Regions from separate parts of the Homo sapiens genome. Here all the other regions are linked to region 5. The links are contacts of gene promoters, found by promoter capture Hi-C in blood cells and fetal thymus (Javierre and others, 2016). All regions are on one chromosome and are shown on one strand. The core of a region is centred on a gene start or on the middle of the fragment in contact, and the rest is flanking DNA. Distances in the headings are between cores, read along the strand shown. Region 1 overlaps LOC105378231 (a long non-coding RNA gene). Region 2 overlaps RBM22 (RNA binding motif protein 22). Region 3 has its middle 24 kb from the start of SMIM3. Region 4 overlaps DCTN4 (dynactin subunit 4). Region 5 holds the start of ANXA6 (annexin A6).

Evidence for each region. Contacts are between HindIII fragments. The CHiCAGO score rates a contact against its expected background, and 5 or more counts as called.
Region 1: a contact is called between a fragment that was not itself captured here and the fragment with the promoter of ANXA6 in region 5, in 2 of 17 cell types (erythroblasts and endothelial precursors). The highest score is 6.0, in erythroblasts.
Region 2: a contact is called between a fragment that was not itself captured here and the fragment with the promoter of ANXA6 in region 5, in 4 of 17 cell types (fetal thymus, naive CD8 T cells, total CD8 T cells and 1 more). The highest score is 7.0, in fetal thymus.
Region 3: a fragment that was not itself captured here is called in contact with the fragment with the promoter of ANXA6 in region 5 in 1 of 17 cell types (fetal thymus); the score reaches 5.3 in fetal thymus.
Region 4: a fragment that was not itself captured here is called in contact with the fragment with the promoter of ANXA6 in region 5 in 2 of 17 cell types (total CD4 T cells and neutrophils); the score reaches 5.2 in total CD4 T cells.

What each region holds. Positions count from the first base shown.
Region 1 is chr5:151,649,366-151,652,455 of GRCh38, reverse strand. The region is part of intron 1 of LOC105378231 (a long non-coding RNA gene); the gene reads right to left. It overlaps LOC124901116 (a long non-coding RNA gene), which reads left to right. Exons shown (of 2, transcript XR_007059007.1): 2 at 155-889. Among named protein-coding and RNA genes, the nearest start is that of CLMAT3, 26 kb to the left of the region's middle. The HindIII fragment of the contact is 2,441 bases long and covers 217-2,657 here.
Region 2 is chr5:150,695,263-150,698,689 of GRCh38, reverse strand. RBM22 (RNA binding motif protein 22) reads left to right here. Exons shown (of 11, transcript NM_018047.3): 4 at 59-191; 5 at 1,799-1,899; 6 at 1,985-2,157; 7 at 2,984-3,184. Among named protein-coding and RNA genes, the nearest start is that of RBM22, 4.1 kb to the left of the region's middle. The HindIII fragment of the contact is 3,324 bases long and covers 1-3,076 here.
Region 3 is chr5:150,801,400-150,804,789 of GRCh38, reverse strand. No RefSeq gene overlaps it. Among named protein-coding and RNA genes, the nearest start is that of SMIM3, 24 kb to the right of the region's middle. The HindIII fragment of the contact is 4,840 bases long and covers 1-3,390 here.
Region 4 is chr5:150,730,177-150,733,654 of GRCh38, reverse strand. It overlaps DCTN4 (dynactin subunit 4), which reads left to right. Exons shown (of 13, transcript NM_016221.4): 5 at 180-287; 6 at 2,166-2,239; 7 at 2,499-2,611; 8 at 2,915-3,024. Among named protein-coding and RNA genes, the nearest start is that of DCTN4, 27 kb to the left of the region's middle. The HindIII fragment of the contact is 7,333 bases long and covers 1-3,478 here.
Region 5 is chr5:151,156,529-151,160,126 of GRCh38, reverse strand. ANXA6 (annexin A6) reads left to right here and starts at 2,348. Exons shown (of 26, transcript NM_001155.5): 1 at 2,348-2,447. RefSeq lists a silencer at 1,476-1,535 and an enhancer at 1,331-2,187. The HindIII fragment of the contact is 7,741 bases long and covers 2,044-3,598 here.

The DNA of each region.
Region 1 (3,090 bases), core at 188-2,687, 490 kb before region 5:
CACAGCAAAACAACACAAAACAGCACAAACCCAAACCACTTTGTTGATGTTTGTAAAGGGGAGTTCGTTCCAAGCTCAGATCATCTGTTTATTGGAAAGCCATGCAGGAGGTGAGACAATTCTTCACTGTGCACAACTGTCTCACCCACTGCAGGATGTCGAGCTTCTCCAGCTCCTGCCCCACCAACGGCCAGTTAGAACACTTTACTGGAAGCTTACCGAGCGCTACTGGCAGAGACCAGCAGGGGGAAGCCTGGCTCAAGGAATGAAAACTCCTGAGCCCCATGCTCCCAAGCCTGGAGGAGCAGCAGCATCAGCTAAAAGGTTCTCAGGACATTGAAGGAGTGAGCTTCACTTCACCACCCACACCCACGCTACCACTATGCAGGTGGGGAAACTGAGTCTCAGAAAAGAGAAGGAATTTGTCATTTGCTTATTATCTACTTTTAGTGGTGCAGCCAGAAAAGGAATCCAATAGGCAGAAGCCCAAAAACCTAGAATGTCATCATCCCTGAGCACTGACAGTTTCATACCCCCAGTTCTCAGCCATTGGACAGATGGAAAGGAGGCAGAGCCCTCTCTGCCCTAAGTCTGGTTGTTGAGCTTAGAAGAGAAGGCAGTGCGCAAAAGTCAAAAGAGACAAGTCAGGAGACCTGGTCTGGTTCCAGTCCCAAAAGTAACTGGATGACTACATGATCCCAGCTGAGCAAATTCCATCTCAATTTTCTTTTTGCAATGAAAGTAATACACATGTGATAAAAATCTACCAAACAAAAACTTCAAACTGTGCATAAGGGTGTAAAATGAAGTAAATTAACTATGAATATTTCTTGCATATCTTTCTGGAAATATACATATTAAACTATAAAAATAAAATAATACATAAGCATATACACATTTTTTTGTTGGATCAGTGGGATAACACAATATATTTGATGTGCTTTTATTTATTTGTTTGTTTTTTTTTTTTTTGAGACATGGTTTCACTCTGTCACCCAGGCTGGAGTGCAGTAGTGCAAACACGGGCTCACTGAATCCTCGACCTCCTGGGCTCAAGTGATCCTCCTGGCTCAGCCTCCTGAGTAGCTGAGACTACAGGTTGTGTGCCACCACACCCAACTAATTTTTTTTTTGTAGAGATGGGATCTCACTATGTTGCCCACTCTGGTCTTGAACTCCTAGGGGCAAGGAATCCACCCGCCTTGGCCCCACAAAATGCTGTGATTACAGGAGTGAGCTACCTTTCCCAGCCATGCTTTGTTTTTAATTTTAAATATCACTCATAGGCTGGGCACGGTAGCTCACGCATGTAATCCCAGCATGTTGGGAGGCCAAGGTGGGCGGATCACTTGAGGTCAGGAGTTGAAGACTGGCCTGGCCAATATGGTGAAACCCCTATCTCCACTAAAAATACAAAAATTAGTCTGGGCATGGTAGCTCACACCTGTAATCCTGGCACTTTGGGAGGCCAAGTGGGGGTGGATCACCTGAGTTCAGGAGTTGGAGACCAGCCTGGCCAACATGGTGAAACCCTGTCTCTACTAAAAATACAAAAAATTAGCTGAGCGTGATGGCAGGTGCCTATAATCCCAGCTACTCAGGAGGCTGAGGCAGAAGAATCGCTTGAACCAGGGAGGGGGAGGTTGCAGTGAGCTGAGACTGTGCCATTGCACTCCAGCCTGGGCAACAAGAGCAAAACTCCATCTCAAAAAAAAAAAAATACAAAAATTAGCTGGGCATGGTGGCAGCCACCTGTAATCCCAACCACTTGGGAGGCTGAGGCAGGAGAATCGCTTGAACCTGGGAGGCGGAGGTTGCAGTGAGCCAAGATCATGCCACTGCACTCCAGCCTGGGCGATAGAGCGAGACTCCATCTCAATCAATCAATCAATCAATATCACTCATAATTTTTCCATAGTAATGAGATATATTTGCCTCCTTCCTTCTGGTGGCTGCATGGTATTTTGTAATACCAATGTAGCAGTTTAATGCTGCACTTACTGCTAAGCACACCCTTTACTGTCTCTTGAGGTGTCTTGCACTGACAAAGCACACTACAGAGGACAACTTGGTACATACATCTCTGTACACATGTACAAGGGTTTCTGTGGGATGAAGTTCCAGAAGTGGAATTGCTGGGCCAAAGAATGTATGTGTGTCTAAAACATTGACAAATGTTGCCAAAATTTCCTTCAAAATGCATCACTTTTAACTTCCTCTGGCACAGGAGAAGGCCATCTCATCTTCTGGTCAGCATTGGGAAGTACTCATCTTGGGGGCCTTGGTCTTTTCATCCATGAAATAAGAGGCTTCGCTGGGCACAGTGGCTCATGTCTGTTATTCCAGAACTTTGGGAGGCCGAGGTGGGAGGATTGCTTGAGCCCAGGAGTTTGAGACCAACCTGGGCAATATACTGAGATACTGTCTGTACAAAAAATTTAAAAAAAATTAACTGAGCATGGTGGCATGCACCTGAAGTCCCAGCTACGTGGGAGGCTGAGCTGGGAGGATTGCTTGCACCTCACAGGAGGAGGCTGCAGTGAGCCAAGATTGTGCCACTGCAGTCCAGCTTGGGCAACAGAGGGAGGCCCTGTCTCAAATAAATAAATAAATAAATAAAAAGAAATAAGAGGGTTAGATTGGATGATGCTGAAGCTTCCTTGCATCTGTAACTTTACATCTGCAACTCTTTCCACTAAGTTGTCCAGCTTGAGGAGTAGAATGGGGCCATGAACTTAAGCAGTTCATTTCTTCTCTTCTCCCCTTCCTTCCCTTCCACGTTCTTCTTTCTCCCTGTCTAGTCCTAGGAGAGTGGAAAAGGCATGAGGCCACCCTCCTCAGGCCAGGAAACCTAGTTCCAGAGGCGGCCCTGGATCCAAACCAGTGTGGGAACCTACCTAAGTCCTTCCCTCCCACCCTATCTGTTTTCCCACCTGGTTTAGCAACTGCCTTCCCTCCTAGGGCTCCAACTTCATAAGATGTTGAGATAACATCTTATGAAGTCTTTTGCCAAAAACATGCCTTTTTCTGCCCCTGGAAGGAATTAGTTTCACTTGTTCTGAAGAAGAGTCTCTGCAGGTACTTGTTACT
Region 2 (3,427 bases), core at 165-2,664, 460 kb after region 5:
CTCCAGATTGCCCAGATCAGGACCATTGACATTCTATGGCTCTTGCTTTGTGTTCCAGATCTGTGCCAGGCCATTCACAGTGTTTCGCTGGTGCCCTGGAGTCCGCATGCGTTTCAAGAAGACTGAAGTGTGCCAAACCTGCAGTAAATTGAAGAATGTCTGTCAGACCTGCCTCTTAGACCTAGAGTATGGTATGTTTGACCTGTCCAATAAATCTGAAAGTGTGCAGGTGCCTAAAACTACAAGTCAGTCTTTTGTCTCCCACTTCGCACCCTAGCTCTGGTTCTGATTTCACTTTGGAATGTCTGCCGTGGTCTGCTTTTCCCAGGAAAAGAACCATAATTAGGCCACTCTAGAGTCCTGAACAATAGTAGGAACTTAAGGAAAAGTTGGGAATTAATCAAAAGTGGCCTAAACCTTCATCTCTGTAGCCCAAGTGAGGTAAAAGGCGTTGATCCTATGATAGATAATTTATTTGCCTTAGGCTTCTTTCTTGATCCAGAGCTTTTTTCCACCATCCCAATCAGAAGCTCACAGGGTAATTGTGCTTTATTTTATTTTATTTTTTGAGTTAGGGTCTCACTCTGACACCCAGGCTAGAGTACAGTGGTGTGATCACAGCTCACTGCAACTTCGAACTCCTGGGCTCAAGGGATCCTCTTGCCTCTGCCTCCTGGTATACCACCACACCCAGTGCACGTGTGTGTGTGTGTCACTATTTTGCCCAGGCTGGTTTTGAGCTTCTGGCCTCAAGCAGTCCTCCCACCTTGGCCTCCCAGAGCCACTATAGCCAGCCTAATTGTGCTTTAGACTTTTATTTCAATTGTGTTGTTAGAACTGATATATTGCTACTGTTTCAGAGTAACTGCTTTTGGGAGTAATTTTTTTTTTAACCATAGGTGACTGTTTTTCAGAAAGATAATTTTTCAACAAGAGTTTTTACTATTAAAGGAAAGGGAAAAATATATGAGTTTATGTATGTTAAGTTCATTAGAGTTACTCTTCTAGTCAGAGTCCTGGCCACATTTTATGTAATATTATTTATATGTTTGTTAAGGAGGCGTCTGGTCCTGGAGTACAGTGACCCTTAGATGACTGTGACTATCCAGAGGATCTGTAAGACTAACCTAGAAAGAAACCACTTTTACATTTACTTTAAATAAATCATGTTGTAATAAAAACTAGGAGCTAATTTACAGGTTGAATATGACCATGGGCACAGTTTGTTCATCTAAAAATTTTCTTTTATAATTTTTTTGTTTTTTGTTTTTGAGACAGGGTGTCACTCTGTTGCCCAGGCTGGAGTGCAGTGGCATGGTCATGGCTCACTGCAGCCTTAACCTTTCCAAGCTCAGGTGATCCACCTCAGCCTCCTGGGTAGCTAGGACTACAGGTGCATACCACCACACCCAGCTAATTTTTGTATTTTTTGTAGAAATGGGGTTTCACCACGTTGACCAGGCTGGTCTCGAACTCCTGGACTCAAGCTATCTGTCAGCTCCAGCCTTGCAAAGTGCTAGGATTACAGGCATGAGCCACCACACCCAGCCTAAAAGATTTTTTCTAAAGCATTAATTTCATCAAATTTCCTGACAGTTCAGGAATTTGGACAATTTCTTAGCATGCTGTGTAGCAGAAGTAACCTGATGGTGCTAAAGAGTTTGAATAAAAACATAGTAAAGTCTCTGGTACTAAATAGGAAAGAGGAGAAGGGAAAGATGATGTATTCTGTGTGCATGGTTAGTATGGATATGTTTTAAAATACATCTGAGGTCTTTTTCCTCTTTTTTTGTACCAGGCCTGCCCATCCAGGTTCGTGACGCAGGATTGTCTTTTAAAGATGACATGCCAAAGTCAGATGTCAACAAAGAGTACTATACACAGAATATGGAGAGAGAGGTATGCTGCCACTTTTTGGATAAAAATCCTAATGAATTGACACAGTCTGTATAATTTATCTTTTGAATTTGTCATCCCCACTTAGATTTCTAACTCTGATGGAACACGGCCAGTTGGCATGCTGGGGAAAGCCACATCTACCAGTGACATGCTGCTCAAACTGGCCCGGACCACACCCTACTACAAAAGGAATCGACCCCACATTTGCTCCTTCTGGGTGAAAGGAGAGTGTAAGAGAGGAGAGGAATGTCCATACAGGCAAGAGCGAGCCTCATTTTCAGTATTTGCTTTCAGATGATTTCTCATCTAAGAAGTGGGAGGTCCTAACTTAAACTGTTTCTGCTTTAAAATCTAAAGGTCATACAACTAATGTGGTATACCTCATGTCTTAGAACTATGAAATTTAGAAGAGCATGAATAAATTGTAGTTTTTACTTACAATTGAGCCTTGGAAACTAAATTGCTATGCCATACAATATAGATGCTGACCCTAAACATTTCTGCCTGAGAAGTAAATCTTCACTGCCATGGTTTAAATGAGTTGACTCTCAATGTATAGTTGAAGTCAAAGTAAGGTCAGACTTCTAAAGGGTGTGTATGTTTTGGTTAAGACTGCCAAGCATCTGGATTAGGAGTTCTTAATTTGGGATTGGTTAACCCCACCCCCTAAAAAATAATGTATGTGCTTTCTCTGGGGCGAGGTTCATAGCTTTAATCAGATTCTCAGTGGAATACAGCACCCCAAATGTGTTAAGAATCATTGACCTAGAGAGGGGTAATCATGTGTCCCTTTCTGGGGGGCGGGAGGGGGTGGATCATGTCAAGAGTATTTATTTATAAGGAAAGTTTGGCATCCTAGATGGCCTAATGGCTTTTAGGAGGCTAGTAATTCCTTCCGTGATACAGTAAATCTCTTGGTATTAGGTCTATTTTGGTAATTATATTTTGGTAGAAACCATAGTTTCTAGTTCAAAAGGCACTTCAGAATATGTATCTAGGACTTTAATATGTAGCTACTCTTGGAAGATAATCATTTTTTCACCTTCGTTTCACCTTTATGCCTTGTTTTTTTCTTGAATCATAGACATGAGAAGCCTACAGATCCAGATGACCCCCTTGCTGATCAGAATATTAAAGACCGTTATTACGGAATCAATGATCCTGTAGCTGACAAGCTTCTAAAGCGGGCTTCAACAATGCCTCGGCTGGACCCACCAGAGGATAAAACTATCACCACACTATATGTTGGTGGTCTAGGTGATACCATTACTGAGACAGATTTAAGGTTTGTGGGTATAAGTTAGAGAGTTATTTTTGCCTTTAACTGCCCTGGAATAATTTATTTGCAAAAACTGCAAGAATGATCATTCTGTACAAAATACATTTTTCTGTAGTCTCTCTATTGTTAGTATCATGCTGACTGGAATTTTTGTAAAATTGTCCTTTATGGTGCCACAGTAATAATGTGCTTATGTGGCTGGGCACAGTGCCTCATGCCTGTAATCTCAACACTTTGGGAGGATCTCTT
Region 3 (3,390 bases), core at 520-3,019, 350 kb after region 5:
CTTGGCTCACTGCAACCTCCGCCTCTCGGGTTCCAGTGATTCTCCTGCCTCCCAGCCTCTCGAGTAGCTGGGATTACAGGCATCCACCACCACACCTGGCTAATTATTCTTTAGAATTCTTAACCCATTCATGCAACTGTGAAAAAACTCTCTCATTCCCCTATCAGCTTACCCTGTGTATTAGCTTCCTGTGGCCGCTGTAACAAATGACCACAAACTTGGTGGCTTAAAACAACAGAAATTTATACTCACGCAGTTGGATGCCAGGAGTCCAAAATCAGAGTGTTAGCAGGGCCACACTCCTCTGGAGGCCAGGGGATGATGTACTTCTTACCTCTTCCGTCTTCTGGTGGCTACAAACTTGCCTTGATTTGTGGCACATCACTCCAGTCTCTGTCTCCATGGTTACATTGCCTCTTTCTCATCTCTGTGTGTCAGTCCTTCGTGTGTCTTTTATAAGGACTCTTGTCACTGGGTTAGAACCCACTCAGATAATCCAGGATCACCTCCCCATCTGGAGATCCTTAACTTAATGACATCTACAAAGACCCCCTTTTTTTTTCAAAGTAACATTCACAGGTTCTGCGATTTAGGAAGTGGACATAATTTTGGGGGGGCCACTATTCAATCCATTACTCCGAGACAGTATAGTTCTCCGTTTAGAAAGTGATAAGCTCCTTGCAACAAAATGGAAAGATGTGGTTCACTTAGCTTAACTTCCCATAAATTCAAAATAATTTAGTACTAAGTGTGGAAAAGAAAAACTAAAGAGCAATCAATTCCCCTTATGCCCAGAGATTCCATAAATCATTCTTTGACCAAGTGCCACTCAATTCCTAGAACACAAAATATCTTCATTTTTAGAGTAGGTATCAATTCTTTATTATACATGACCCAAACAATTGCTATGTAGAATGAGACAACAGCATTCATACTGAACTTTTCCTAACAACAACAACAACAACAACAAGTAACTATGTTTTCTGAGGTGCAAATCTTGATTGAAGGTAAATAGAAGCATAAAGGGCTCCAATAGTAGAAATTCTAAAGGCACTCATAACTATTTTAAAATTCAGAGGCCAGGCATGGTGGTTCGCATCTGTAATCCCAGCACTTTGGGAGGCCAAGATGGGAGGATTGCTTGAGACCAGGAGTTCAAGACCAGCCTGGTCAACACAGTGAGACCCCATCTCTATAAAAAGAACATATATATATATAAAATAAAGAATGTACTTATATCATTATTATGAAATTTGTTGTTGAAATGAAAAATTACTAAAACTGTTTTCATGACATATCTATGATTTTTCTCTCCATTGCCCTGTGTCTTCATTGACACTGAATTTCAATCACTGCTAAACTCTTATTGTACAGTAATATTATCATCTGTTTTTTTCATTAATATGCTAAGACACAATCTGAGAAGAAAGACTGCTCACTAAAGTAAAACAACTTTAAGAAAAAATATAAATACAAGGGTAATTAAGTTATTTGAATTAGAATTCTATGCTATTTCCTAATTTTTCCTCAGACTTATAACTGTCTCTTACCCTCCCCAACTCCAATCCTCTTTGTCCTTTCCACTTTCCTTTTATTGCCTTCCGAATTTTTCCCCAAGACGTTTGGTTGAAACCCATATAGCGAAACCAATCAAGCCAATGTGCCCCACCCATATATAATTTTTTACGGTAGTGCTAATGATCTTCCTTTGTTTTTAGGTAACATTTAAGCACTGAGTACTTATTACAGGCTCTCTGTAAGTGTTCTAGATTCAGCACCTTGTTTAAACCCCTCAGCGGCACTGTGGAGGCAAATATGATCCCCTTTTTTACAAACAAGGGCAATGAAACTCTTAAATGTTACTTTCTAAAGGGAACACGCTGGTGGAGCCAGATGGGAATTTGGTCTGCTTGACTCTAAAATTAAATGATTCTCTCTATAACTATTGCTGTCCAGCTTTAAAAGTAGATACAATAATTTTTGTAATTTTTAAAAATGATGTTATAGACCTGCTAAAACAGAAACATTTTTCCTACCATGTAAATCTTTATGGGAATTGAAGAGCCTTTCATTTGCTTTAATTAAATACCTTGTGTGATTGGAACAATTTCAAAGTTGCATTAATGCAACTTGGCCTTAAAAATTTCAAAGGAAATATTATCATTGTCATTTCATTTCACAGTCTCAGTTCCATTCTCTCTCTTTAGCAAGAATTATATAAGGGCCTAATTAAAGTTTTAGCTTACTGAAAGATTTTTAATGTTTTTTGCACCCTTAAAACTTTAGAAAGCAATTTCTGTGAGGAATTAATACTTAAAAATTGAATACTTTGTGTTTTATTAAATAATTGTGGATTCATTAAGAAACATTTTCTAAAAGGAACTTAGTATAGAAGAGATACAAGTTTTATACTTGTTCTAAGGCTGATCCTACAGGATAACAGTAAGGAAATTGCTAATCTCATTACTTCAGTGATTTTTAAAATCCCACATCATTAGGGGCATAGACCATTGGTGTTTTTACATTATTGGCCATCTTATAATTACTACTATTGAGAGCCTCTTCTAAGTCAGACATTAACCAACTACCTTACTTATATTACCTCATTTAATTCTCCCCATGCTCTAGTAGTTATCATCACCATTTTACAGATGTAGAAACTGAAGCTCATTATTGTTAATAATAGATCACATTTTGCTATATTTTACCTTTTCACTTTGCATTCATCACCCCATGTAATAATCATAACAATCCTTTGAAGTAGGTATAATTATTTTCACTCGTATTTTACAGAAGAGGAAATTGAGGCTCAAAGAGTTTATGTTATTTGCTCACGATCACAAAGCTAAGAAATAGTGAAGGTCCTCGCTCTTAGTCTCTGGTTATAGTGTTCCTGGAAAGGGAAGGAGGATGACAGCCAACCTGTAATGCAAAGTATGACTTCTTCCCCACCCCCAGAGAAGATAGGGGCGGAGGTGAGGTAAGTCATGATTAGCGACCTTCAAAATGTTCAGACATTTCCCAAGAAAAAGGAAGTTGATCTCTTCAGTGTGGCCTCAAGAGGGCAGAACTAGCATCCCTGAATCCTTAATCCCACTCTCACCGAGGGAGGAATTCTAACAAAACAGCTAATAAGGGGTGGCTTCAGCAAGACGTGAACCTCCTTTTCACTGGCACGTGGCTCTCAGACTTTAACCTGTTTGTTGAGCACTTACGGATTGTTTTTGCAAAGCAGATACTGAAGAACCAGTTCCAGAGATTCTCGGTCAGTACGTCTGAAGCAGGGCCCTGGAAGCTGCATTTGTAAGCAAATGCTCCTGTGTGAATCTGACACAAGCAGTCCAGGATCACACAGGAGAAATACTGAAAAGGCAACAACTGGCAACCTGT
Region 4 (3,478 bases), core at 928-3,427, 430 kb after region 5:
TTTCACTTCGGAAAACAGATCACATAACGAAGAAAAATTATCTTAGAAGAAAAAGGGCAAACTTGCCCATCTTAATAATTTGTCTTCTCTATTCATTATGTGTCTAGTCAGTGTAGTTGATTAATTTGATATGTTTTCTGTTAGCTTTTTTGTGTACTGAGTCTGTGATTTTCTTACAGATGAACAAATTGATTGAATATTACCAGCAGCTTGCTCAGAAAGAGAAGGTTGAGCGAGATCGCAAGAAACTGGCACGACGTAGAAACTATATGCCTCTGGCTTTTTCGGTGAGAATTTGGTACTAAAATGATTTGCAAGACCTCTAAGGCCTAAGAACAGTGATCATTTCAGAAAATGGCCATTGTCCTAGATTCCTGAATGGTGGATATCAGAGAGAGGGATTCTTCAAATTATAGACGTTTAAGTCCAATAGTTAGGCTTTTGCTATATCATTAGTTCTGTTTGAGTTATTTGTGTTTTGAGGACATTTGTGTTTCTTTCTCCATCACTCCCCTTTATCTTCTGATTATTTCCCCAGAAAGGCTGTTAATTTTGTAGGCACTGCAGAGTTCCACGTACAGCTTTTGTGTATTACAGAAAGTCTGAGAAGAAGGAGGTGGGCAAATGGTAGATTTCAGTCATATTACCCCTGTAGCCCACCTTTGACATCCTGGCAGTAGTGGTTTCTCAGCTTTAGTTATAATTTTTTTAACATCCTCCCCTGTTTCTCCAAGATGAAAAACACTGACTTTTTACATAGTGCACTTGTGTGGTTAAATAGTAATATATGCAAGTAGAATTTTTGATAAGAATTATTTATGAGAGTCATTCTCTACCAGTTTACGTACTGCTAGTAAGAAGAAAGAAATTAGGATTTGGAATTTTTGTTATTTTACCCCGAGTTTTATTTGCTCTCATAGTACAGTTTGTTTTCTGTGTGCTTGCTTGGGGCCCAGCAAATTGACATTCAATAAATAACATTTATTGAATGGCAATGATGTGTCAAGCTCTGTGCTAAATAAACACTTTACATGTATTACTTTACTTAATCCTCACAAAAATCCTGTGGAGTATCATATCCCCATTTTACGCTTGAGGAAATGGGACCTAGTTAAGCAACTTGTCATACTGCATCCACATGAAAATTAGTTAAGTCATTGAAACCCTAAGGGTTGGTAAAGTCCATATAAAAATACCTAGATTAAGCTGGGTGCAGTGGCTCACGCCTGTAATCCCAGCACTTTGGGAGGCTGAGGCGGGGGGATCACTTGAGGTCAGGATTTCAAGACCAGTCTGGCCAACATGGCGAAACCCTGTCTCTACTAAAAATACAAAAAATTAGCTGGGCATGGTGGCGCACGCCTATAATCTCAGCTACTTGGGAGGCTGAGGCATGAGAATCGCTTGAACCCAGGAGGCGGAGGTTGCAGTGAGCCAAGATAGCGCCACTGCACTCCAGCCTGGGTGACGGAGTGAGACTCTGTCTCAAAAAAAATCTAGATTAGAATTTAAAAACATTAACACTTGCAAAGCACCTACATTTGCAAAAAGAAGTGAATTTTTCTGAATAGTCCAGTGGTATAGTCAGCATATGCACCAATGTGTGTTATATTTAGAGGTAGAATTTGAATTAAATGAATTATTCTTCCAATTTTCCCATATAACCTGCCTGCTATATGCGTTTGCTTCTATCTTATGCTGCATTTTTTGTCTCTGTTGCAACCTGCTGCTATTTTGGGGCTCTACAGCAACATACTATTCATGTAGTGGTAAGTTCTCCTTTATGATTCTTGCTGACCCTGAAGAAGTTAGCAGATGACCACTGGTGTTCCAGGAAGACGTCTGTTGTGTATCTTAGACACTCCACATAGTTCTTGCCTGAGCCGTAGCTTAGATACTTTTAGATTACTAGCAGAAGCTCACATTTGGTTCATTTTTACTGTATTAATATAGTTTCAATCTCCATGTTTAGTGCTGTTATTATTTTAAGAATAGAATAATGATGTGGGGCTACAAATTGCTTTCTTTAAAAGAAGCCTTTAGATTAGCTTTTTTTTTGCTTATTTCCCTGAGCTTCTCATGCTATCCTACCCAAAATTCTTTCTTTTGATAAATAGGGTGTGTAAAAGTGGACTTTCTAATAGGAATTTCTGAACTTTGTTTAGGACAAATATGGTCTTGGAACCAGGCTTCAGCGACCACGAGCTGGTGCATCCATCAGTACCCTTGCCGGACTTTCGTAAGTTTAGACATGAAATGACTTTGAGGAGAACAGCAGGTATCAAAATGAATATCAAATAAATGAGATTAAAACACACACACACACACAGTTGTCAATGGAAAAGAAGATTCTCATACTTAGAAAAGACCTACGCTATACAGATATTCTATGACAGAGGAATACTTCAATTATTGATATCATAGACTGAGGATAATCAGGTGGATCCGTGAGAAATTACTCTTTTGTTTTGTTTTGTTTTGTTTTTTTAATTTTTCAGCCTTAAAGAAGGAGAGGATCAGAAAGAGATAAAGATTGAGCCAGCTCAGGCTGTGGATGAAGTGGAACCTCTACCTGAAGACTATTATACAAGACCAGTAAATTTAACAGAGGGTAATTTTCTGTGTTTTTCTACTTTGTTTCTAGTCTACATCTAATTCTGTTTTTGTTATTTATGTACCTAGTGATTTGAGATTTTTAATGGAATAGCTGTTAGTAGTAAAAACAATATGTAGAAAATAAAACAGCTGTAATAGAGGTAATTGTTTGAAATCTAAAATGTCAACTTTCTATATTTTCATTTTTATGAACAACACTGTTCGTAAAGGCAGTAATGCTTCGTGTAATTACTGGTACATAAAAGTCTGATTTTGAAAGTCACTGTAAACTAAGCCTGTTTTCTGCCTTTCTTTCTAGTAACAACCCTTCAGCAGCGTCTGTTACAGCCTGACTTCCAGCCAGTCTGTGCTTCACAGCTCTATCCTCGCCACAAACATCTTCTGATCAAACGGTCCCTGCGCTGCCGTGTAAGTATTCCATTCTGTAGACTGACCATTTGTACAAGAGGAAAGCAAAAATAAATGTGGCTGGTGTCTGACTAATGTCAAAACCTTTGGAATGTATTAAATACAGAAAATACTTGTAGAGAACATACTAATTGCCAGGCACTATTTTAAATGCTTTCAATATAAACAGCTCTTACAACTCTGTGAGGTAGGTACTACTGTTAAACCTGTTTTACAAATGTAGAAAATGAAGTATCTGAAGGTTAAGTACATAGGGTTAACCCCTAAAAGAATAGTGAAAGAGTGTGAACTTTTAGGCTAGTGTTCAGGCTCAGGGAGGACCAATAAAAAATAATCAATTTAAAAGAAAGCAAGAAAAATCAGCAAAATCCAGGCTCTGGTAATCTACAGAACAAATGACAGAGTTTCTTCAATAAATAAATTGTAAAAACAAAATGGAAAAGAAACCTTTTAG
Region 5 (3,598 bases), core at 1,099-3,598:
TTTGTAGAGATGCGGTTTCGTCATGTTGTCCAGGCTGGTCTCAAACTCGTGGGCTCAAGCAATTCACCCACCTCGGCCCTCCCAAAGTACTGGCATTACAGGCATGAGCCACTGTGCCTGGCCGGGTACAAATTTTTAAAAAATAAAATACAAGTGTTGGCAAGGACATGGAGAAATTAAAAGCCTCATACATGACATGGCTGATGGGAATATAAAATGTTGCAGCCACTCTGAAAAAATGTTTGGCAGTTCCTCAAAAACTTAAATGTAGAATTACTATATGACCCAGCAGTTTCATTCCTAGGTAAATACACAACGACAATTGAAAACAGGTACTCAAATAAGTATTTGTATGCAAATGTTCATTAGCAGCACTATTCACAATCAGCAAAAGGGGGAAACAATGCACTATCCATCAACAGATGGATGGATAAACAAATTATAGTGTACTTATACAACGGAAAATTATTCAGCCATTAAAAGGAATGGAGTGCTGGACCGGACACGGTGGCGCATGCCTGTAATCCCAGCACTTTGGGAGGCAAAGGCGGGTGGATCACCTGAGGTCAGGAGTTCGAGACCAGCCTAACTAACATGGTAAAACCCCATCTCTACTAAATACAAAAATAAATTAGCCACACGTGGTGGTGCATGCCTGTAATCCCAGCTGCTCGGAAGGCTGAGGCAGGAGAATTCCTTGAATCTGAGAGGTGGAGGTTGCAGTGAGCCGAGATCACGCCATTGCACTCCAGCCTTGGCAACAAGAGCAAAACTCCAACTGAAACTAAAAAAAAAAAGGAATGGAGTGCTGATACATGCTACAGTGTGGATGAACTTCAAAAACATGCCACATGAGGCCAGGCACGGTGGCTCACGCCTGTAATCCCAGCACTTTGGGAGGCCGAGGCAGGTGGATCACCTGAGGTCGGGAGTTCAAGACCAACCTGACCAACATGGAAAAACCCCGTCTCTACTAAAAATACAGAATTAGCTGGGTGTGGTGGCGCATGCCTGTAATCCCAACTACTCGGGAGGCTGAGGCAGGAGAATTGCTTGAACCCAGGAGGCAGAAGTTGTGGTGAGCAGAGATCACGCCACTGCACTCCAGCCTGGGCGACAAGAGTGAAAAAACAACAACAAAAACAAACAAACAAAATGCCACATGAAAGAAGTCAGACAAGAAGGGTTGCATCTCATGTGATTCCATGTATATGAAATATCCAGAATAGGCACATCCGCAGAAGCAGAAAGCAAATTGGTGGTTGCCAGAGACGAGGGGTAAGGGAAAGTTAGGAGTGACTGCTCAGTGGGTATACTGTTTTATTTTTCCGTGAAGAGAATATTTTGGAACTAGATAGAGGTGGTGGATACACAACATTGTGTCTGTACAAAATGCCACTGAATTGTTGACTTTAAAATGGTTAATTTTATGTTGTGTGGATTTCATCTACCCAAAAATAATACCCTTTCTTTGCTCAATATCCTGCAATGGATCCCCAGTTGACTCAGAGTAAAAGACAGCGTGCCTTCAAGGGCCCCGGAGGTCCCACCTGATTGGGTCCCTCTTATCTCTCCTCTCCCTCCCACTCACTCCATTCCAGCCACACTGGCCCCCCTGCTGATCCTCGGAGGCGCCAGGTGGCCTCCTGCTAGGAGCATTTGCTCCAGCAGTTTCCTCTGCCTGGAACACTTTCCGCAGGTATCTGTCCAATTCTTCTAACTTCCTCATCTTCTCCTTACCAATCCCCTGGGGACAATAATTCTCAGTTTCCTCTGTATTCTCAGTTTATCAATTTTTCCTGTTCTAGCGCTGGATTACAACTGCTGGTCTCCCTGCCTGCCTTCCCTGCTTCCCAGAGCACGAAGAAGCTTGCCTCCGCAACCCACTATTTGTGTGACCTTGGTCCAGGAACTGGACTGGGCTCTCCTCCTGAAAGTGGGTAAATAATGTCACCGACCTAATGAGGCTGTTGAGGCATGGAATCTGATCAGGCAGATAAAGTGCCCCTGGCAAACCTCAATTTTCTGTTTCTCAACAAAGCTTTGGCGACTTATAAGAATTTGCGGGAAAGTGTCCAGAACCCGGAGTCAGGAGCCCTGACTTCTAGCCCTGAAGGGCCGCGTGACCTTGGCCAAAGCCCCTAATCCTTCTCAGTCTCAGATCCGGGGGCTGGAAACTGAGGAGGTTCTCCCGGCAAGCCCCTCGGGCTAGTGACATTCTAAGATTCCAAGAGCTAAGGAGCTAGAGGGGTGGGGTGGAGGAGGGAGGCGGGCGCGCCGGATTGGCCTCTGCGCGCCACGTGTCCGGCTCGGAGCCCACGGCTGTCCTCCCGGTCCGCCCCGCGCTGCGGTTGCTGCTGGGCTAACGGGCTCCGATCCAGCGAGCGCTGCGTCCTCGAGTCCCTGCGCCCGTGCGTCCGTCTGCGACCCGAGGCCTCCGCTGCGCGGTGAGTGGGCTGAGGCTGGAGAGGGGAGTCGCTCTGGGAACCCCTTCCCGGGGGCTGCAGGGACACAAGAAATAAGCGCCCAGTCATCGGCTGATGGGTACCCCCCGCCAGGAGCAGGGACGGGAGGGCGCGGTAACCCGAGAGTGTCGCAGACTGGGTGTGTCTGGGGAGCGCAGCGGAGCAAATCTGGGGTCGGGGCGGAGAGGCGCGGGCGGAGGGCGCCCTGGCTAGGGGGAGGGGAGGGAGTCCCGTTGCTGCAGAGGGTCTGGTTGAGGGTCCTGGGCGCCGGAGCTGAGCCAGGGGCTGGTCCTGCCGGCCTTAATTTGGGGGGGCTCAAGAGACTTTGAAGGTCCGGGGTTGGGGTCAGCTGGACGCCAGTCAAAGGACCCGCAGAGAAGGGTGTGGCTGAGGCCCAAGACTGAGAGCAAGAGCGTTGGACCCTCCAGCTGCTTATAAAATGGCTTGTGTGTGGTGTCGGGGGAGGGCTGCCTGCGTGCAGAGAGCTGAACGTCCGGTCGTACATACCTCAGGGCCTCATTGGACCCCATCCCCTTTGGGCCACTGCTTGTCTATGAATGCAGTCTCCCAACGGGGCTCCGAGGCCTCCTATGGTGAGGCAGGGGCACTACCCTTCTTTCTGCATCCCCTAAGCGGTCTAGGCCTTCCCAAAGTTTGGGGGCTTCAAATAATTCCCCATATACCAGCATGGGAGCAAAATACCCTGAATCGGAATCCCAGCCCCTGTTGCAGTGTGACTTTGGGCGGTGGCTTTCCCTCTCTGAGCCTGGATTTCCTTCTCCAAGTCCATAGTTGAGAAACCCAGTCTCTTTCAAAGGAAACAATGGCTTTGAAAACTGATTTATTTGTCAGCTGTATGGAATGATTGCAGGTTTGGGAGTCTTGATTATAGATTTGGGAAGCCTGGCACAACCCTTGTAGGCCCTACAAGGGGAAAGGGCAGGAGGTCCTTTGGGACAACTAATCTGGCCACGGCTTCCTGCCTCCTCCTTCCTTTCCCTAGATTCTAGTGGGTCTTCTCTGACAATTCCAAATTTGGACATATGGCTCCCGGGTTTGTGAAAGGACTCTGGTTTCCCCCCAAGAGTCCGCCCTTTTCCCTCCATTATTCCTTCCCCCTTGCCCAAAACATG